6 separate regions of the Homo sapiens genome follow, and regions 2, 3, 4, 5 and 6 are each linked to region 1. The links are contacts of gene promoters, found by promoter capture Hi-C in blood cells and fetal thymus (Javierre and others, 2016). All regions are on one chromosome and are shown on one strand. Each heading gives the region's core, a stretch centred on a gene start or on the middle of the fragment in contact. The rest is flanking DNA. Distances are from core to core; before and after follow the strand shown.

Region 1 (3,720 bases), core at 855-3,354:
TCCCCCTCTTTCACACATGAAGGCTCTTCATCGGAGTAATTATTCAAGGCATCATGGTAATAATTAAGCCAAACTGGAAACCAGTTCTAACTTTTAATTCTTTCCACCCGATCATGATGTTGAAAGGAAATATGTTCCCACCCTTTCTGCAAGGATGACAGATAAAGCTACAAAGTGAAATTTCTCAGAGAAAGCATCTCTATACACAGAGTGAGTATCAGAGGGTCCATGTAGTGTGGTGGACACTCGATCAAAGAGTCAAGACGGCCTACTTCTGGTCCTGGCTTATGACAACCCACAACTGAAAACTAATCTCTTGACTTTTCTGGGCAATCTCCTCAGACAGAAAGAAGGAGAGAGGGAGGGAGGAGCAGGCTATGCTTGAACAGTCATCCAAACCCCCTATGGTGAATTCTTGTCCAGCAGACCTCACTGCCTTGAAGAATAAAGCCATTACCTATGAAGTGGCATAACTCAGTGGTAAGAACTACTAGGCTTAAGGATCAGAACACCTGGTCTCAAACAGCCAAACCACCACATGCTACCTATACAACCTCTGGCAAGTTAGGTAACCACTGCAAACCTGTTTCTCTATCAGTGAAATGGTAACTATTCCCTATCAATTGTTGGGAGGATTCTGAAATGATCTACATAAAGCATTGAGCACAGTGCTTAATTTTCATCTTTCTGTCATTTATTTTCATAACCAGCACATGGTAGGTCTCCCATTCCTTTTTCCTTTTAAATTCCTCACGTGCCCCCAGAGACTGAGAGGGATGGAAAAACTACTGTGCCAGAGGACAAGCAGCCAGCGTGGTCAGCTTTTCAGGCTTAAGGCTGAGGCTCCTGTCTGTCTCTCCCTTTTCAGCTCTCGTCCCTCCCTTTCTCCATCTTTTCCCCTTTATCTCAATCTTTCTGTCTCTCCACCACAACAGCAGTCTCCCAAACCCCAGAGCACACCAGCATCTCCAAGCACCCACACAGCTTCCTGCCCACACAAATCACAGACAACAAACCACATAGTTTCTCATTCTGGCACCTCCCCTGGCAACCTATGGACATGCCCCCACATTGTAGCCCGCCCTGCTCTCACAATGGGTCATATAAGGCCATTCTCAGTCACACTGTCACACTCACTGTCGGGATGACATACAGTGCTAAGTCACACCATCTCCCTCAGTCTCACATAATCACACACACTGTCATGCACAATCTCAAACACTGTCACATACAATCTTAGTCCAACAACAAAAACTCTGTTCACATACAGTTTCACATACAGTGACACAGTCTCACACACTGTCACACAAATTCTGTCGCAGTTTCATGTGGTCCCATATCAACAGCCACACACCGTACACAACCACACATAGCCTCACACACGGTGACATGGTCTCACATACTGTCACAGTCTCATCTAATCCTACACACACGGTCAAGCTCTGTTCACAAAGTCACACACACTGTCACACAGTCTTACATTATCCCACACACACAGGTCACACACACAGTGACATGGTCTTACACACTGTTCACACGTGGTCTACACATAATGACAGTTTAACACTGTCACACATTCCCAGTCTCACACATGGTGACGTGGTCTTAAGCACATACAGTGTCACACAGTCCCACACGGTCCCATATACTGTCAAAGGCTCCCGCATACACCGGGGCAACGGTCTCATACTGTCGCACACATTCTCACACCCAGTCTCATACTGTCACACATAGTCCCACATTTGTCCCACATGGTCTCACACTGACACACATATTCACACACGGCCTCACATTCTCACACTGTCACACACGGTCTCAAATTCTCACACAGTCACACATGGTCTCACACACGATTCCACACTGTCAAACACATTGTCACACACGGTTCCTTAATGTCTCACACATTCTCACACACTGTCACACACGGTCCCACACATGGTGGCATGGCCGCTCCCGGCGTCAGCTCCATCCCGCGCTCCTCACCGCCTCCTCCCTCCAGTGGGCACCTCCTTCGGCGCGGTCCTTGGAGGCCGGGGCTGGGCCAGGGCCCGGGCCAGGGCTCGATCCTGGCCGGCGGCCGCGCTCACAAAGGCGCCGCAGCCCTAGGGCAGGCCGCAGGGGCCGCTGGGAAATGGAGTCCGGGGCCGGCGCGGCGCAGAGGATGCTGGGATGTTGGCCGAGGGCCCCGGGCGGCCGCAGATCCCGCCGCTCAGTTGCGGGTAGTTACTGCTGCGCCCCTTTCCCTAGTAAGCCCACCTCCGCTGGCCTTCAGAATCCCACCCGGACCAGCTGAGCCCTCTCAGGCCGTTCGACTGTCCGCTCCCCCACCCGTTCCACCCGTTCCACCTGCGCAGGCGCAGCTGGTTCAGGTCCCCAAAGGCTGCCAGGCCGGGGTGCCAGCGCGGTGAGGCGCACGCGCAGTGACCGCGTCCGCGCTCCAGCGCTCCGGGTGGGGCTGTGAGTCCATCGCTGAGAAAAGGGAGCTGGAGGACCAGTGTGGAGCCTGAGCCAGCTGGAGAGGGGCCCGGTAGGATGTACGTGTGATTAAGCGCTCTGGCGGCCCGGGCTTTCTCTTTCCCTTTCTGTTTCTTCTCTCTCCGCCTTGCCCTGTCTTTCATTCGCCACTTATTGAGCGCCTGCTGTATCGGGCACTGTCGTGGGCCCTGGGCACACAGCAGTGAACAAGCAGACAAAATCCCCACCTCATGGAGCAGCATTCTAATGCGGGAGGAATTCAATAGGAAAAAATTAATAATAAAGGACACTGATGCATATTGGGAAGTAATGCGTATTATCAAGAAAAGCGAAGCAGAGTATTAAGATCATTCTTTCAGTTCTTCATTCTTTCAGTTATGCCCTCTGAATCAGTGGAAAAAACGCAAGGTGCATTTTTTTCTATTATCTCAACGACAACTAATCATAACAGAAGACTTTTCTGACCAAATATAGGGGAGTTTCCCACACATCTCAAGCAAGCAATGAGTTCAGTGAGTTCTGCAGCGGGCACCAGCTGGGTGTCCTCCAGTTTAATTCCGACGCCGTCTACTTGGAGATGGGTCAGACACCATTCGCTGAGGGCTCAGTCCCCAAGCCTGCCTCCCCCTTCCCACTTCCCACTAAAGTCTAGCCTCTGGAACATCTGACTCCACCACCTTCAAATTGGGATTTTCACCACCCCCTCTTTGCGGTTCGATATTTTGCTAGAGTGGCTCACGGAACTCAGGAAACACTTATGTTTACTAGTTTATTATAAAGGATATTACAAATGATATAGATGAAGAGATGCGTAGGGCAAAGTACAGAAAAAAGGGTGTTGCACCTTCCAGTAACCTCCACATGTTCAGCTGGGTGGAAGCTCTCTAAACCCTGTCTTTTGGGAGTTTTACAGAGGCTTCATTACATAGGCATGGTTGATTAAAATCCCGTCCCCTCCTTAGGGTTGGGGGTGGGGTTGAATGTCCCAACCTTCTAGTCATGTCTTGGTCTTTCCATAACCAGTCCCCATCCTGAAACTCTATAGGGGTTGCCAGCTGTCAACTCATTAGCATACAAAATGAGTTTTTACTGTTACTTTGTAGTTTCTAAGGATTTTAGAAGTTCTATGCTAGGAAGATCAAATATATATTTCACAATATCATACTCTTATTCCTATTCTTCAATCTGTCTTTGAAAATATTTTATAAACTCCTATCTCTAGTTTATCTCCCAATCCTGTACCAT
Region 2 (3,720 bases), core at 677-3,176, 920 kb before region 1:
GGTAAAAGACATAAGTACTCTATGGAGAAGTTAATGGCACAGGCAGTAGGACCCACAAAAACACAGGGTGGGATTCATCAGTCATCTCTAAGCAAATGTTCACTCATTTTTGCTATGTGCTTGGCACTGGGTTCAATGACAGTGCAGTGAAAAAGGGGAATCAGACCTTCCTTCAGCTTTGTCAGGATCATGCTCTTCACCACCTCAGGGCCTTTGCACATGCCAGCCTGCCTACTTGGAATACTACTTGCTCCTCTATCTTGCTCCTTCTAATCAACTCACTCTTTGGGTCTCAGCTCAAATGTCACTTCTTGGAGAGACTTTGCTGCTGTGGCTCTCAAATCCAAGTCCTTAATCAATATGCCACCTGGCCATAGAACTTTACTCCTAATAGTATGTCAATAACTGATATTTATACAATGTAACTATAACCTAGGGAATATGCCAAGCAATTTAAATGCATTGTATTTTATAAACACTCAATTAAATTTAGTCATTAGTTTAGAAAAGAAATAACATATTTGAGATACTGAGTCTCCATTCAGGAGAAAGGTAAGTTTCTTCACTGACCTAAGGCTTTTTTTTTACATTCTAAGCAAAGCATTACATTGCTACTCCTATGGTCCCTGCATGAAAAATTCTATTTTAGGATTTCTTCACAGGATGCACATTAAGAATGTACTGCAATCAGGACCACATTATAGATGAAGAGATCGAGGCTCAGGCAGATAAAGTGACTTGCCAAAATCTGGGAAATGGCGAATGGCCAAGCCAAAATGTACACCTGAGTCTAGTCATCAAAAGCATCTGGCCAATTTAACTAAAAAACTATACAAAGTTGTTCCAAAAACTGCGGAGTCCAAGTGTGATACTGCTGATTATGAGGACAATGATTTAGACAGCAGTGACAATAGTGACAGCAACAGAGGTCACAATTGCTAACCTGCGCCCAGCCACCTATCACAACACACTCTACTGAACCATTTGCCCTCACACTAGCCCTATGAAACAAATACTATATTGGCCTTTTTTTTTTTTTTTTTTCAGACGGAGTCTCTCTCACACTGTCGCCTGGGCTGGAGTGTAGTGATGAGATCTCAGCTCACTGCAACTTCCGCCTCCCGGGTTCAAGTGATTCTCCTGCCTCAGCCTCCTGAGTAGCTGGGATTACAGGCACCCGCCATCACACCCGGCTAATTTTTTGTATTTTTAGTAGAGACGGGATTTCACCATGTTGCCCAGGCTTGTCTCAAACTCCTGACCTCCTGATTTGTCCGCGTCGGCCTCCCAAAGTGCTGGGATTACAGACATGAGCCACTGTGCCTGGCCTGGCCCTTTTTATTCATGAGAAAAACTGAGGCACAGAGGGATTCCTTAACTTGCCCAGGAACACAGGGATCATGAGCAGTGGAGATGGGAGTGGACTCCTGGACACCAGACCCTGGTCTCCCAAGTGCTACGCTCAGAGCCAATGGTGAACACCCCTGCGTGGTGCCAGGAGCCTCAGAACAAGTGGGCTGTGGAGGAGAGAGGGGAACATGAGTAGGAGAACTCAATCCTAAGGGAGCACAGGACCAGAAGGGGCCTTACCCAGAGACATGAGAAGTCCGCAGGTCTCCAGCATCACCTCCTGATACAAGGTTCTCTGGGCTGCATCCAACTGTCCCCACTCCTCCTGGGTGAATGTCACAGCCACATCCTCAAAGGTCACAGACACCTGGAAAATTAAACAGAGATAGTAGTGTTTCCCTTGGAACTGTGGAATACAACTAGAACTTGTCACTTCAGCACTGCAAAAGATGCGCAGTGACCCAAGAATCAAATCACCAAGCATCTCTAGAGGGCCATGATCTGTGCCAGGCATGAGGGGAATGTGGACATTGCCTTGGATAAATTACAGCAGTGTCGGTCAGGCGCGGTGGCTCACGCCTGTAATCCCAGCACTTTGGGGGGCCATGAAGGGCAGATCACGAGGTCAGGAGATCGAGACCATCCTGGCTAACATGGTGAAACCCCGTCTCTGCTAAAAATACAAAAAAATTAGCCGGGCGCGGTGGCGGGCGCCTGTATTCCCAGCTACTCGGGAGGCTGAGGCAGGAGAATGGCGTGAACCCGGGAGGCGGAGCTTGCAGTGAGCCGAGATCGTGCCACTGTACTCCAGCCTGGGTGACAGAGCGAGACTCGTCTCAAAAAAAAAAAAAAAAATTACAGCAGTGAAGAGAGAGAAGCCTCCTATGCAGAAAGCCACTTCACACAGAAATAAGGTTAGGACAATCCTAAGGGGACTGAGAGGCAAGACAGTAAGTGCTCTGAGACATCAGAGGAATGGGAAAGAATAATAACAAAAACAACACCAGCAACAACAACAAGAACAGCACCTGAGTCTTACCGATCCTCCCTGTGAGCCTGCCTCATGCTAATGGCTTTACATGCCATGGTAAAGTGACTAAAAGTCCCCAGCTCAGGAGTCAGACTCCTGAGGTTTAAAACCAAATTCCTGAAATCAACACAAGCCTGCTATGTGACCTTGGAAATCTCATTTCATTTATCTGAGCCCTGATGTCCAGGTCAACACAACAGGGTTTTCCACTTCACCAAGAATAGTCAAAAGATCTGAAGAAAAGCTGTAAAGGAAACACTGGGGCAAAGGGCCACAGCTCCTGAGTTCACCATCATCATCTCCATGTCACACTCAGAGACTTGAGGTCCAGGACCTCCACTAGTCTACCCAAAGTCACATCTCTTATCAGGAGAGACAGAATTTGAACCCAGGGCCCTATGGTCTATGTTCTAATCATGCAACCCGACACTCCTTCATTAGCAAAGTTAATGCACAGTTAATGAGGATGGGAAACATTGAAATACATCCATTTGAGCCACCCTGAAAATATTTTCAGGATTTTTTTTTTTTTTTTTGAGACAGGGTCTCAATATTTTGCCCAGGTTGGGCTTGAACTCATGATCCTCCTGCCTTAGCCTCCCAAGCTGGATATACAGACACATGCCACTGTGCTGGGGTTAGCCACTTGAAATATTTTCATGGACCTGGGCAGAGCAGCATAGTCATAATCACCTACCTCACAGAAGAGTCACCTGAGGTGGTGGCACCTGCCTCAAAAGTGGCAGGGCCTGGACCTGCATCTGCTGCCTCGGACACTTCTGGGCCTCACAGATGCCCATTCTCATAGGAAGAATCCACAACGAGCTATCACTACCTTTTCCTGTTTGAGTCCTACCAACAAGTATCCCTGAGGTCAGGATACTTCAGGAGCAAGGAACAAGAGTCACAGAGGACACAGCAGGTTGTAGCCATGAGAACATGGGCCCCTGACTGGCTATGTCTGTCCTGGCTAAGGAGGAAGGCACATCTAGCAAAAGACCACAAAATCTTGTGTCCCAAGACATGTGTCAGCTGGTATAGGAGAAAACCACTCAGGAAACCACTGTGGAAGCCACACGGGTCCCCTGCGGACTCCTTAAACAACCAATAAACCATTTTTTTTTAGTCCACACAGTTCCACCAGCATGAAATGCCATGACTCCTCATGTCCAAGACCACCTGCTAGAAGGAAGCCTGCTCAACTTGCAAAGTTTACTTTAGGTGTCACCCCCAGGCCTCCCTAACCATTGCGGGCAAAGAAGAGGGTAAAAACACAGGCTGTGATGGTAGACACACCAGTTGTTAGTTTCTGATACTTAAGAGCTACAGTGATGTAAGGC
Region 3 (3,720 bases), core at 723-3,222, 840 kb before region 1:
CTGGAGTGCAGTGGCGCGATCTCCGCTCACTCAGCCTCCTGAGTAGCTGGGACTAAAGGCGCGTGCCATCATGCCTGGCTAATTTTTTTGTATTTTTAGTAAAAATGAGGTTTCACTATGATGGCCAGGCTAGTCCTGAATTCCTGACCTCAGGTGATCCACCCGCCTAGGCCTCCCAGAGTGCTAGGATTACAGGCGTGAGCCACCATGCCTAGCCATTAAATGAGGATTCCAGTTGAGGATTTCCTCACGGTATACCCAGGAAGTCCATATCATAATCAACACCATTTTGTTGACAAAGAAACCCAGGCTCGGGGAGGTAAAGTGATTTGCTGAAGAGCACAGAACTGGAGAATGGCTGAGTCAATAAGGAAACCCAGGTCCTGCCATCTCTGTCTGTGCTGTTTAACCACAAAGCTCCACAACGCTGCCCAGAAAGTGCCAGGTCAAGGCATGCCAACGACAATAATCATGATGAGGACGACGGTAATAGTACTGGTGGAAACAGAGATTGTAATGGCTCCCTGCACGCAGCCTGGTCTCCCAGGTGCTGTTCTGAGCCTTTTCATAAAATAACCCTTGACCCTGGCAACAGCCCTGGGATGCGAATATGGTTAAGTCCTCATTTGAACAATGAGAACACTGAGGCACAGGCAAGTTCAGTAACTTGCCCAAGGCCATGGAGTTTTTAAAGAGCAGAGCTGGGGCTGGACACCAGCGTTCTGGCTTCAAACCCTACTCTCCCAAGAAATACAGTAAGGAGGAAACCACGAGCACCAGAGTGGGTGGCAGAGGGTGGTGACGAGGCAGAGATGTGAGCTGGAGGATTCATCCTCAGGGACCAGCGGCCAGGATGAGGGGCAGGTCAGTGACTCCAGACCCCAGCATTTCACGAACCATTAAAATATTTAAAGACTGAACATCCTACTGTGATATGGTGACATAAGGATATTTACAGAAACTTCATATAGCAGCGCAGTGGCTCGCATCTGTAGTCCCAGCTACTGGAGACGGTAAGGTGTGAGGATCGCAGTGAGCTATGATCTTGCACCACTGCACTCCAGTCTGGGAGACAAGAGTGAAACTCCATCTCAAAAAAAAAAAAAAAAGTTCACAAGAGAAGAATTTTTTCTACACAAAAACATTCAGTGATAGCTTCATAAAATGAAGGTGTTTCATCTGTGCTGAGTAAGTTAAACTGGATGAGGGACTCACAGGAGTGGCTAAATTTTCCTTACTTTGCTGAGGACAGGGATCCTGTGAGAATAAATGGAGCATGAACACTGCCTGGAACAGGCCTGAGACACCCAATCAGTGCTCTGGGGATCTGGACTGTTAACTGCTTTTCTTTTTTTTTTTTTTTTTTTGAGACGAAGTCTCGCTCTGTCATCAGGCTGGAGTGCAGTAGCGCGATCTCAGCTCACTGCAACCTCCAACTCCCTGGTTCAAGTGATTCTCCTGCCTCCACCTCCTGAGTAGCTGGGATTACAGGCATGCGCTACCACACCCAGCTAATTTTTGTATATTTAGTACAGACGGGGTTTCACCATGTTGGCCAGGATGGTCGCTATCAACTGACCTCGTGATCTGCCTGCCTTGCCCTCCCAAAGTGCTGAGATTGCAGGCATGAGCCACCATGCCCGGGCTGCTTTTCTTAAAAGTGATCCACTTTTTATTTTTCTTAGATTTCTTCAAAAATGGAATCCTTATCACTCTGGTAAATGGAAAATCCAGAGTCACTTGTCTTGATGGCAGGTAACCATGAAAATGTAGCAATAAATCAAAACAACGTATACAAAAATTAGCTGGGCGTGGTGGCACCTGCCTGTAATCCTAGCTACTCAGGAGGCTGAGGCATGAGAAATGCTTGAATCCAGGAGGCACAGGTTGCAGTGAGCCAAGATCAAACCACTGCACTCCAGCCGAGGCAACAGCGAGACTCTGTCTCAAGACAAACAAACAGTGCTCTTTGGTCCCTGTGAGCTCATGCTGCTTGTTCAGGGCTGTGAGCCTAAGGCTGCTCCCTCTGTAGAAAAGGGGAAATTACCAACAGTTTGCAGGACGTTAAGTCTCAGCACTAAACCAGAGTTTTCCTCAAATGCTAAGGAGACAAGACGAGAAGAAATAAAAGAACAACTTCCTCAAGTGTCTCTCAGCACCAGCTGATGTAGTGTCTGTCCAAGCACTCTCTGAAAAAGAGCTTCTCGCCTTAGCACAATTGACATTTAGGTCCAGGTAATTCTTTGTTTGTGAGATCGGGGGAAGAGGAGGAGAAAGGATCTGTCCTGTGCATTATAAGGATGTTTAGCAGCATCTCCACCCACTAGCTGTCAATGTTATCATCTTAGGTTTTTTTTTTTTTTGAGATGGAGTCTCGCTCTGTCGCCCAGGCTGGAGTGCAGTGGTGCAATCTCAGCTCACTGCAAGCTCCGCCTCCTGGGTTCACGCCATTCTCCTGCCTCAGCCTCCCGAGTAGCTGGGACTACAGGCACCCGCCACCACGCCCGGCTAATTTTTTGTATTTTTAGTAGAGACAGGGTTGCACCGTGTTAGCCAGGATGGTCTCTATCTCCTGACCTTGTGATCCGCCCATCTCGGCCTCCCAAAGTGCTGGGATTACAGGCATGAGCTATCGCACCTGGCCCATCATCTTAGTTTTAACAACCAAAATGTCTCCACACATTGCCCAGTGTCCACTGAAGCTCAACATCGTCCCTGTTTGAGAAACACTAGCTTAGAAAGACATTAAAAAGGTAAAGGGAGGAGGCTATGGTGAGAAAGGGGCCTCCCCAAGATTCGGTGGTCAGGGAAGGGCTGGGTGAGGAGGCAAGTGGTGCTGAGAAGGGGCGGCCATGTGAAATGCTGAATTACCCTGAGAACACTCATCAAAGAGAACAGCAAATGCAATGGCCTGAGGTGGGTGGGCACTTGGGGAAATAGCAAGAAGCCCAGCAAGGCTGCAGCAGAGTGACTTTAGAATCAGAGGATGTGAAGGTGATTGAAGGACGTGAAGGTTGTTTAGAATAACACCTGGTGGGACGGAAGGTCAATGTCTCCTTGGGGCCTGCCTGACTCAACCCTTCTTAGTGAACATCCCACCAACCCTTACACCACAGACTGGGCTGTGGAGCAGATACATGAGCAACCAGGCCCACCCAGGCAGATCCCGCTCTGGAACTCAAAAAAAAAACTGCAGACAGAGGCCAGTCTATGCTGGGCAGTGGGTGAGAGATGGAGGCAAGTATGAGCTGGAGGTGGAGCAGCATTTGCTGCCTCAAACACGCCCCACAGAGGCCAGAGAAACAGACAAGAAATCTGGAGGGGAAGGAGGGGTCACAAACAGTAAAACCTGGGGTGGTTACTCTTCCCCTGAACTCGCTGAGGCAGAAAAAACCATACAGAGTAGACAGTGACATGAGCAGACCCAGACAGAGAAACCAGGACCCCATCGTGGCGGTTCTCAGTTCCTACTTCAACCCCTCATAACATACAGCTGGCAATCCTACCTTTGAGGTCTGCAAAACACCCCATTTCCTTCCACCAGCTTCTCTCCTTTGGCTGAGAGCCAAAGAGTACTCTTATTTCTTGTCCAAAGCGATGCATGGAGACTGTATAGGAAGAGGTGAGTGTAGGCCAGGCGTGGTGGCTCACACCTGTAATCCCAGCACTTTGGGAGACCGAGGCGGGCGGATCACCTGAGGTCAGGAGTTTGAGACCAGC
Region 4 (3,720 bases), core at 810-3,309, 780 kb before region 1:
ACAGGCGCCTGCCACCACACCCGGCTAATTTTTTATATTTTTAGTAGAGATGGGGTTTCACCATGTTAGCCAGGATGGTCTCGATCTCCTGACCTCGTGATCCACCCGCCTTGGCCTCCCAAAGTGCTGGGATTACAGTCATGATCCACCACGCCTGGCCCATAAAGTCAGTCTTAATTCCTCAAAGCAGTCTCGCATAGTTAAAAATATGCCATTCCTGTCAAAGCCTTGGGAAAAGACCCAGTGCCTACAATTGTGTTATAAAATAATATGGATTTTAAAAAATAGAGATAGGGTCTTGCTTGTTTACCCAGACTGGAGTGTAGTGGCACGATCATAGCTCACTACAGCCTCAAACTCCTGGGCTCAAGCGATCCTCCTGCCTCAGCCTCCCAAGTAGCTAGAAAACAGATTCTTATTGAACATATGCTACACCTAGCTAGAAAACAGATTCTTATTGAACATATGCAAACAACCACATTGCCGTGAATTAAGAATATTCACAAATAGTTTCTGAATTCTGGAGAAATCAGGCAGAGAGAGAAATAGCCCTCAAATTTTGTTTACAAATGTATATTCAATTGTTAAAGGCTATAAATAGCTGGAAAGAAAAAAGTTTCATAGAGACAGAAAGTAGATTTACAAAAAAAGTTCTCCTGACTCAAAAACAAAACAAAAAGAATCAGCAATGTTTCAAACACACACAAAAAATAATAAAATAAATTCAGTACTTGAAATAAATCTCTGTGTTTGTGTGTGTGTGTTCCATTTCTCCCTAATTCCATTTCTCAACTGCATGAATCCTTAACTCATGAAAGATACTTTTTACCCTCTTGGCTCCACAGTTAATGGAGAAAAAAAAATCATCAACAGTGACTTCTAAGATGGCTTAATATACTATATAATAAAATATTTTTATTTATCATGAAATAAATTAGTACAGTCCATGAAACTCCTGCTCTGCTTCATATTGCATAAACATATGTATACATAATTATGTATTTTATGAATATATCAGCCTTCTAATTAGAGTCCTGGAAGTTTTCTCTCTAGGCTGATAGGACAATCTCCAAAGTTACCAGAAACTTGAATTCAAGTGTTCTTTTTATGAACTCTCTCAAAGAAGCCCTGAACTGTAGCTGACTGTAAGCCACCTTTGGAGAAGACTCAAAGTCAAACAATAATTGTGGATGACAAAAGTCTTAGGACAACCATAGTTAAAAAACAATGGACAAGGAAATTTGGTTATTTCTGTGACAAACGATTATGACAAATGTACTTTTCTCAAGTTTTAAGAGTGGGAGGGTCAATTTCTAGGTTCAGTCAAAAGAAACCACAAACATCAGTTCTATGGGACAACTGGGTTGGTTTTCACAAGAAACTGACAAGCTCACATTAGGAGTTCTAACTGTCCTCCCAGAAAGGTATATTAAGCAATCTTAGAAGTCACTATTGATGATTTTTATTTTCCATTAACTGTAGAGTCAAGAGGATAAAAAGTATCTTTCATGAGTTAAGGATTCATGCAGCTGAGAAATGGTATTAGGGAGAAATGGAATACACACGCGCGCACACGCGCACACACACACACATATTTTACTGCAAGAAATGGGGGTGGTGTGCGGTGGCTCATGCCTGTAATCCCAGCACTTTGGGAGGCTGAGGAAGGAGGATTGCTTGAGTGTAGGAGATCGGTCAGAGTGGTGGGAGAAGCTATAAGAAAAGGACGCAAACCTTCTGAAAGGTCAGAAGTCTCTGCATAGCTTCACGGGAGAATAAGCTGAAAGCAGCTGTTCTCTTACCCTAAGGCAGAGGGCAAGGAGTAGGTACAAGGAAGTGTAGGGGAATTTAACATAAACAGGCTTGTTTACTTATGTTAACTAGGAACCAACATTTGATCATTCACGAGTGAGGCTGCCCCCAAAAGGGGGAACAATAATGTTAATTACCCACAGACTGTGTTGGCTCCAGGCTTTTGGCATTATGTCTGTACTGAATAAAAGCAAGCAGTCCCAGCTTATCAAGACTGCTCACTCTTCAGCAGTCCCCTAGCTGCTCTTACACTACATACCTGTGTCTGAGTACTCCTTTCATCCATCGCTCAGCCAGGGTCTACAGGACAGACCCGGCTCTTGAGGCCGGGAGTTAAGAGACTAGCCTGTGCAGCATAGTGAGACCATTCCTCCACAATAATTTTTTTTTTTGAGACAGAGTCTCGGCACTGTCACCCGGGCTGGTGTGTAGTGTTGCAATCTTGGCTCACTGCAACCTCCATCTCCTGGGTTCAAGCAATTCTCCTGCCTCAGCCTCCTGAGTAGGTAGGATTACAGGTGCCCGCCACTGTGCCTGGCTAATTTTTTATATCTTTTAGTAGAGATGGGGTTTCACTGTGTTGGCCAGGCTGGTCTTGAACTCCTGACCTCATAATCCGCCCACCTTGGCCTCCCAAAGTGCTGGGATTACAGGTGTGAGCCACCCACCTTGCCTACAATAAAAATTTTAAAAAAAGATAGAAGAAGAAATGGGCTATGTGATTGCAGGGACAGGCCAGTCCCAAATCTGTAGGCTAGAGTTCAGGCCAGCAGAATTGAAACGTGGATAGGAGCTGAAGGTGCAGTCTTGAGGCAGAATTTCTTCCCCAGGGAACCCTGTTTTTCTCTTAAGGCCTTTCAACTGATTAGATAAGAACCACCTACATTATCAAAATAACTGATTATAGATGTTAACCGTTTCTATGAAATACCTTCATAACAATACCCTGGTCAGTGTTTAATACAATTTCTGGGTAGTACAGCCTAAACAAGTTTACACATATAGTTGGCAATCATACTCTACCCCTTGTCACCTTAAACCATCTTTAATCTTCAAATAAATACAGTAAAAAAGGCTTATTTTGGCCAGGTGTGGTGGCTCACACCTGTAATCCCAGTACTTTGGGAGGCTGAGGTGGGTGGATCACTCGAGGTGAGAAGTTCGAGACCATCCTGGCAAACATGGGGAAGTCTCTACTAAAAATACAAAATTAGCCAGGCGTGGTGGCACACACCTGTAATCCCAGCTAGTCAGGAGGCTGAGGCAGGAGAATCGCTTGAACCCAGGAGGCAGAGATTGAAGTAAGCTGGGATCGGGCCACTGCACTCCAGCCTGGCGACAGAGCGAGACTCCGTTTCAAAAGAAAAAAAAAAAAGATTAAAAAAAATAGAGATGGGGGTCTTAATATGTTGCCCAAGCTGGTCTTGAATTCCTGGCCTCAAGCAATCTTCTCACGTTGGCTTCCCAAAGTGCTGGGATTACAGGCGTGAGCCACAGCACCCAGCCCTGGATATTATATGCTTGCTTGAAAGCCTGTGGCAGGAAATCCACTTCCTACCCCAATCTCCACATGGCTCAGCCCCTCATCTCCCTATAGACTTTGATCTATGTCACATTCTAAATAAGCTGTTTCCTGATCATTCTAATGAAAATTGCAAACAACTCCCCAAACTCTGACACCCTGATCCACCTTACTCTCCTTTTCCTTCTTTTTGTTATAGCACTGGTTAACTTATCATGTCTATTTCTGTATTATAATTATTGTTTATTTCTGACTTTTCATCCAGAATGTTAGCTCCATGAGGGTAAGCGTCAGTGATGATTTTGTTCACTGCTGGATCCTAAGTTTTTTTTTTGTTTGTTTGTTTTTTTAATTGAGACAGGGTCTTGCTCTGTCACCCAGGCTGG
Region 5 (3,720 bases), core at 370-2,869, 770 kb before region 1:
TTCAGGAAGTTCACTCCTCCTTGTCAGTACTTTGACTAGACAATTAAAATAAACATAGATCCAATTTAGAAGAATGCTATAAAGATACAAAAAACATAAAAACAAAATATTATTTTAAAATACTGAATTAAGAAAACACTTGCAGGACATAGGACAAATGCAGCATAATATTTAAGTCTCAAAGAAATGTTCTACCTAAGAAAGAAGCAAAGAATCTGAAAGCTAATAAAAGAAAAATAAAATATGGCAAATACATTTGATTAAAAGTGTTCAAGCACGCTAGCGCTCAAATTAAAAATAAAACAATGAGATATTATTTCCAGCTCTAAGATTTATAATGATTGAAAATTTGATGGCTGGGCATGGTAGCTCATGCATTTACTGTCAGAGCACTTTTGGAGCCCTAGGGGGTAAGATCGCTTGAGCCCAGGAGTCGGAGGCTGCAGTGAGCCATGGTTGCACCACTGCATTCCAGCCTGGGCGACAGAGCAAGACCCTCTCAAAACAAATAAATAAATAAATACAATTTAAAAAAGAAAGAAAAATATTTTAAATAACTAAACTGAAACAGGTCAGGGTCACTGGTCTCATTGTCTAAGGTGTTATCTAAGCTCGTGGTCTCATGACCAAGAAAATTAAGGAGCGTGGACACAAACAGTGAGGTTGGATCAAAAATAGAAGCAGAGAGTAAAATGGTGGTTGCCGGGGGCTTGAGTGAAGGGGAAATGGGGAAATGTTGGTCAAGAAGTACAAATTTTCAGTTTTGCAAGATAAGTTTTGGGGATTTAAGGTACATAGTGACGTTATTTGACATGTACATTGTGACATTATGTGACATAGTTAACAAATTAGAAAAAAAAATTTTAAATTGGATGATCAGAAATGAAAAAAACAATACTACTTGACATTTGCTAAGAGGATAGATTTTTATTTTTTGCGACAAGGATAGACCTTAAGTGTTCTTCTGCATGGGGGAGAAAAGGATATTTTTTTTAAAAAGTGTTCTGACCGCACACACACACACACACAAAGGGTATAATTTGAGGTGGTTAATACATCAATCAGCTTGATTTGATTATGGTAACCATATCATATTATATGTGTATATCAAAATTCAAATCGTATATTTAAAATATGTATCTTTTTTGTCAACTGTACCTCAATAAAGCTAAAAAGTAAATACAAGGCCCAGGGCAGTGGATCACACCTGTAATCCTAGCACTTTGGGAGGCCGAGGCAGGTGGATCACCTGAGGTCAGTAGTTCGAGACCAGCCTGGCCAATATGGTGAAACCCCATCTCTACTAAAAATACAAAAAATTAGCCAGACGTGGTGGCAGATGCCTGTAATCCCAGCTACTCAGGAGCCTGAGGCAGGAGAATCACTTGAATCTGGGAGGCAGAGGCTGCAGTGACCTGAGATCACCCCACTGCACTTCAGCCTGGGCAACAAGAGTGAAACACTGTCTCAAAAAAAAAAAAAAGTAAATACAATATTTAATTGGAGTAAATATAATATAATGTAACATATATGCACACACACAAAGGGTGTGGTTTGAGGTGGTAAATACATCAATCAGCTTGATTTGATTATGGTAATTATATCTTTTGTGTATTTCAAAATTCAAACTATATTTAAAATATATATCATTTATATCATTTTTGTCAACTGTACCTCAATAAAGCTAAAAAGTAAATACAATATTTAATTGGAGTAAATATAATATAATGTAATATATATGTACACACACACAAAGGGAGTGGTTTGAGGTGGTAAATACATCAATCAGCTTGATTTGATTATGGTAATTATATCTTTTGTGTATTTCAAAATTCAAACTGTATATTTAAAATATATATCATTTATATCATTTTTGTCAACTGTACCTCAATAAAGCTAAAAAGTAAATACAATATTTAATTGGAGTAAATATAATATAATGTAATATATATGTACACACACACAAAGGGTGTGGTTTGAGGTGGTAAATACATCAATCAGCTTGATTTGATTATGGTAATTATATCTTTTGTGTATTTCAAAATTCAAACTGTATATTTAAAATATATATCATTTATATCATTTTTGTCAACTGTACCTCAATAAAGCTAAAAAGTAAATACAATATTTAATTGGAGTAAATATAATATAATGTAATATATATGTACACACACACAAAGGGTGTGGTTTGAGGTGGTAAATACATCAATCAGCTTGATTTGATTATGGTAATTATATCTTTTGTGTATTTCAAAATTCAAACTGTATATTTAAAATATATATCATTTATATCATTTTTGTTAACTGTACCTCAATAAAGCTAAAAAGTAAATACAATAATTGGAGTAAATATAATATAATGTAATATATATGTACACACACACAAAGGGTGTGGTTTGAGGTGGTAAATACATCAATCAGCTTGATTTGATTATGGTAATTGAATCTGGGATTCAATTATATGTGTATATCAAAATTCAAATTGTATATTTAAATATATATCATTTTTGTCAACTGTACCTCAATAAAGCTAAAAAGTAAATATAATATTTAACTGGAGTAAATATAATATGTAATATATCTGTTATATGGTATATCAAGATTATATTATTAATATTATATATTAATATAATATATTTAATGATAATATAATTATAATGAATATCCAATATTGTGTCAATTAATTTAAAGCACATTTATAATTGTAATACTAATGTTCAAGTAGATGTACATATAATTTACATCAAAATATAAACATCAATATAAACAAACAGCAGAAAATTCTGCTCTAGATTTCCAGACAAATTTGGTGAAAAAATATTGTGATGAAATGTCATATACAGAAAAGAAAAACAATTTATCATTGTTTTAATTAAATAAAGTGTAAAATTTTCCTGTTAAATGTTATTTCATGTCATTTTCCTGGTTCGAAATTGTTTCTCCAAAATGGCTTGATATCTGGCCAAATTTTATTTATGGATAGTCAAATATATCAATAAATGAAATTCATATCACTTCTTTATGTGCTCTTAATAACAGTTAAAAAATTACACAAATATAGACATGTAATAAAATTTTCCCTTTTATCCTGCACTATTGTAGATTACAGCTATAAAAAGTGACAGCCACCAGCCAGCTTCCCTCAAGACTGATCAATGACTGATCAATGACTGGTCAATGGTGAGACATCTTTTTTCAATGCGCAGGTACCCTCACTTGCATAACTTGCAGGGTCGTGCACGTGCAGGGTGGGATCTTCTTTTTATTTACAATCTTTATGTTTTGTTAAGATGGACTTTTTACATTACTTAAAATATACATTGCTTTCAAATACTATTTATCTTGATCACAGAATTTTTAGCACCACCTTAAATTTTGTTCCTGTCTCACTAGCCTCACTCTTATGTGATACTAATTAGAAATAACACTTTTAATTTATAAGGAGAGGCCACTATGTCAAAAGATAGGTGGAGAGCATAAAAACCCCATTTACAAAAGACTATATGTATATAATAAGCATTGAAAAATATGTGTAAGCAGAATAGTACTCAAAAATATTCTTTTTTAAAAAATTGGCAACTATTGCAAGCTTGTCTCCCTGTTCAGGTTCCAGTGATTTGGGACGAATTTTTTTCCCACAAGGGGGTTGGGGGAGCCAAGGAGCATGACTCTGTGTATGTGAGTTGGCATGGGCCGAAATGTTCTTCTTGTGATGGCTTA
Region 6 (3,720 bases), core at 617-3,116, 700 kb before region 1:
CTCAGCCTCCCGAAAGTAGCTGGGATTATAGGCATTCACCACCACGCCCAGCTAACTTTTGTATTTTTAGTAGAGACGGGGTTTCATCATGTTGGCCAGGCTGGTCTTGAACTCCTGACCTCAGGTGATCCGCCCACCCCGGCCTCCCAAAGTGCTGGGATTACACGCCTAAGCCACCGCACCCGGCCAATTTTTTAACTTTTTGTAGAGATGTGGGGGGTCTCACTATGTTGCCTAGGCTGGTCTTGAACTCCTGGGCTCAAACGATTCTCCTGCCTCGACCTCCCAAAGAGTTAGGATTACAGGTGTGAGCCACTGTGCCTGGCCTGATTTATTTTCAACAATTTGAACATATAAAATCCATGCTTAACCTGAGGGCCGTACAGAAGCAAGCGCTAGTCCATATTTGATTCTGCCAAACGCTGCTCTAACTCTGCAGCTGGCTTTCAGTAAGACACATGGAAGTGTTAGATAAAGAGAAAAAAAAAAAAAACAGAAAAGTTCTGCCAGGGAACCCAAGACATTAAATTCCCCTGTTGACTGGGGCGAGGGACTTTAAGCTGTTCCCTTTACACCACAGGCTCCAAAAGGGAGTAGTCTGAAGCCTGGACACACTTATCCACAGACTCATTTGATTTGGTCAGCATGGTCTTTAGGAAGGAATAAATACATGACCTTCTTAAACATAAAATTTGGAAGATTTCACTTAAAGGAATCCAGATTTCTGGGTTTTGTGACCCATGTTCCTATGCGGCAGCCACAGGTTGGAGCAGAAGAGCAGGGAGCCCCTTTATTTATTTATTTATTTATTTTTATTTTATTAATTTTTTATTTTTTTGAGACGGAATCTCGCTCTGTCGCCCAGGCTGGAGTGCAGTGGGGCGATCTTGGCTCACCGCAACCTCCGCCTCCCAGGTTCAAGCGACTCTCCAGCCTCAGCCTCCAGAGTAGCTGGGATTACAGGCATGAACCACTACACCCGGCTACTTTTTGTATTTTTAGTAGAGACGGGGTTTCACCATGTTGGCCAGGATGGTCTTGAACTCCTGACCTCAGGTGATCCACCCGCCTCAGCCTCCCAAAGTGCTGGGATGGCAGGTGTGAGCCACTGCGCCCGGCCAGGGAGCCCCTTTAGATGGGATGGGGAGGGACCTCCGATCAGGGCTGCCCACTCACTCCTCCTCCCTCTGCTTCCCTTCCCTCTTCCATCTCCCTCCCCCATCCCCCCCATCCTTCATTCATCTACCTGAGGTGCCTGACCCTGGTAGACAAGGAAGATATTAAAAATGTTTAACAAGGGTGGGGCAGTAGCCAATCCTGATGAAGCCCTGACCAATGATACACGAGCCCCAGCTGGGAGCTATTGGTACCATCTGTAGCTCCTGTGGACATTGACATTTAAATTGATTTAACCTTTTTTTTATTTTTTATTTTTTGAGACGAAGGCTCACTCTGCCACCCAGGCTGGAGATCTCGGCTCACTGCAACCTCTGCTTCCCAGGTTCAAGCGATTCTCCTGCCTCAGCCTCCCAAGTAGCTGGGGTTACAGGCGCACACCACCATGCCCGGCAAATTTTTGTATTTTTAGTAGAGATGGTGTTTCACCATGTTGGCCAGGCTGGTCTTGAACTCCTGGCCTCAAGTGATACACCCTCCCTCGACTTCCCAAAGTGCTGGGATTACGGTCCTGAGCCACCGCGTCCGGCCAGACTTATAATTTTAAAAAGGAAAAACCAGGGGCACCCCACCGCCTGGGGATCGAGGGGAGCCCAGCATAGGGAGGGAGAGGGAGCCAGGGTTATAACGTCCACATTCATACAACCTCAGCCTTGACCACTACGTGCGGATCATGGCGGTAGCGACCCGGCAGGAAACACAGCGAGCGAGCTGATTTGTGATCATGGTCGGTGCTCCGAAGAACAGACAACGAGGCGTGGAGCGCGTGCCGGGTGCGATCCTGGAAGGCTCCTCAGAGGAGGTGACATCTCGCTGGGCCTGGCGGCCCTGACGTCCAGCGGCGATGGCGGTCCATGGCCACCAGGTGGCGCCGCGAGAACGTGGCTGAAGCAGCTAGGCCGCGTTCCTGCGATCTGACTGTGCAGAGAGCTGTGGCTCCAGGTTTATCTCAAAGCATTTTTCTCAGCAGATGAACTTAGGGAGGGAGGCAGGAGAGCAAATTCCCCTCACTGCCCATGTGTCAGTTTTATTGTACCTTAACGGTAGTCAGTGCTGCAGCAGCCGAGAGCCCGGGCCCCCAAATTTGGGTTTACGGGCTGGCTCCAACCCAAACCAGCGTGTGTGTCCCTGCCATGGGCGTTTTATGTATTTATTATGTATTTGTTTTTCTATTGAGACAGGGTCTCACTCTGTGGCTCAGGCTGGAGTACAGTGGCGCTGTCTTGGCTCACTGCAGCCTCCCCAGCTTGAGCAATCCTCCTGCCTCAGCCTCCCGAGTAGCTGGGACTACAGGCCTGCACCACCACACCCAGCTAATTTTTGTATTTTTTGTAGAGAAGGGTTTTTGCCATGATGCCCAGGCTGGTCTTGAACTCCTGGGCTCAAGTGATCTGCTCACCTCTGCCTCCCAAAATGCTGGGATTATAGATAGGCATGAGCCACCACACTTGGCAATTATTTATTTATTTTTATTTTTACGGTTTTTTAGAGTCAGGGTCTCACTCGTTGCCGAGTCTGGAGTGCAGTGGCAAAATCTTGGCTCACTGCAACCTCTGCCTCTTGGGTTCAAGCAATTATCATGCCTCAGTCTCCTGAGTAGCTGTGACTACAGGTGCTCACCACCACGCCTGGCTAATTTTTGTATTTTTTAGTAGAGATGGGGTTTCACCATGTTGGCCAGGCTGGTCTCGAACTCCTGACCTCAAGTGATCCACCTGCCTCAGCCTCCAAAAGTGCTGGTATTACAGGTGTTAGCCACCGTGCCTGGCCAGTTCACTAATATTGAGATAAATCATACTCGTGTAAGACGCTACTAACAGGGGAAGCTGGGTGCAGGAACAAGGAAAACTTTCTATTCTCTTTGCAACTTTTCGCCAAATCTAAGTCGATTCTAAAATAAAAGTTGATTCTTTTTTATTGTTTATCTGAAATCCATATTTAACCAGGCAATTTGTATTTTTATTTATTAAATTGGGCAACCCCAGTGCAGAGCTAAGGGAGACAGGTGGATTCTCTAACCCAGACACACGTTTTTGAGCCATCAGCGTCTGTGATCCAAGCCGGGAGCCGGCATGAGATCCCGAGTGAGGGAGAGTGATGGAGACCATGGCGTCTGGAGCCGGAGATGCAGGGAGGTGAGCGAGAGCTGTCCGAGCAGTGGCTGAGGGTGTTCACTGCTGGCCGACTTAGTCTCTCCACACCTCAGTACTCTTCTCTGTAAAATGGACACTAGAATCACGCCTGCCTCACGGGCTTTTGGGAAATGCAATGCCTTTGATGGAGTATTTATTGCTGCATCAGGTGCACAGGACGCAGACAGAGTTAACTTACTCCCGAGTTCATCCCATCCAATTTCTTCATGGACGTGTGTCCACAGATACACATACAGACATGTGCCCAGGGAGACATAAGTAGAATATATGATGCAAATTTATGTTCATAATTATAATTTAATGTTCAAATATATTCATACATGTATATAAAGTATAGATACACAGTTAATTCTGTATTTAAATATATCTTGGTATAATTTTATCAATATGG

What was found. The method cuts DNA at HindIII sites, captures the fragments that hold promoters and counts their contacts. A CHiCAGO score of 5 or more calls a contact.
Region 2: a fragment that was not itself captured here is called in contact with the fragment with the promoter of ZNF583 in region 1 in 2 of 17 cell types (total CD4 T cells and neutrophils); the score reaches 6.5 in total CD4 T cells.
Region 3: a contact is called between a fragment that was not itself captured here and the fragment with the promoter of ZNF583 in region 1, in 1 of 17 cell types (neutrophils). The highest score is 5.4, in neutrophils.
Region 4: a contact is called between a fragment that was not itself captured here and the fragment with the promoter of ZNF583 in region 1, in 1 of 17 cell types (naive CD4 T cells). The highest score is 8.4, in naive CD4 T cells.
Region 5: a fragment that was not itself captured here is called in contact with the fragment with the promoter of ZNF583 in region 1 in 1 of 17 cell types (total CD8 T cells); the score reaches 5.9 in total CD8 T cells.
Region 6: a contact is called between a fragment that was not itself captured here and the fragment with the promoter of ZNF583 in region 1, in 1 of 17 cell types (naive CD8 T cells). The highest score is 5.4, in naive CD8 T cells.

The regions. Positions count from the first base shown.
Region 1 is chr19:56,402,716-56,406,435 of GRCh38, reverse strand. It overlaps ZNF583 (zinc finger protein 583), which reads right to left and starts at 2,104. Exons shown (of 5, transcript NM_152478.3): 1 at 1,984-2,104. RefSeq lists a silencer at 1,871-2,080 and an enhancer at 2,541-2,680. The HindIII fragment of the contact is 8,045 bases long and covers 1-3,720 here.
Region 2 is chr19:57,321,679-57,325,398 of GRCh38, reverse strand. It overlaps ZNF543 (zinc finger protein 543), which reads right to left. Exons shown (of 4, transcript NM_213598.4): 2 at 1,591-1,717. Among named protein-coding and RNA genes, the nearest start is that of ZNF543, 3.1 kb to the right of the region's middle. The HindIII fragment of the contact is 4,027 bases long and covers 1-3,720 here.
Region 3 is chr19:57,244,422-57,248,141 of GRCh38, reverse strand. All of the region lies in intron 2 of ZNF805 (zinc finger protein 805), which reads right to left. Among named protein-coding and RNA genes, the nearest start is that of ZNF805, 5.6 kb to the right of the region's middle. RefSeq lists an enhancer at 1,807-2,101. The HindIII fragment of the contact is 5,225 bases long and covers 1-3,720 here.
Region 4 is chr19:57,185,361-57,189,080 of GRCh38, reverse strand. No RefSeq gene overlaps it. Among named protein-coding and RNA genes, the nearest start is that of ZNF264, 4.3 kb to the left of the region's middle. The HindIII fragment of the contact is 5,081 bases long and covers 1-3,720 here.
Region 5 is chr19:57,167,705-57,171,424 of GRCh38, reverse strand. No RefSeq gene overlaps it. Among named protein-coding and RNA genes, the nearest start is that of DUXA, 2.1 kb to the right of the region's middle. The HindIII fragment of the contact is 3,945 bases long and covers 1-3,591 here.
Region 6 is chr19:57,097,689-57,101,408 of GRCh38, reverse strand. No RefSeq gene overlaps it. Among named protein-coding and RNA genes, the nearest start is that of USP29, 20 kb to the left of the region's middle. The HindIII fragment of the contact is 7,444 bases long and covers 1-3,720 here.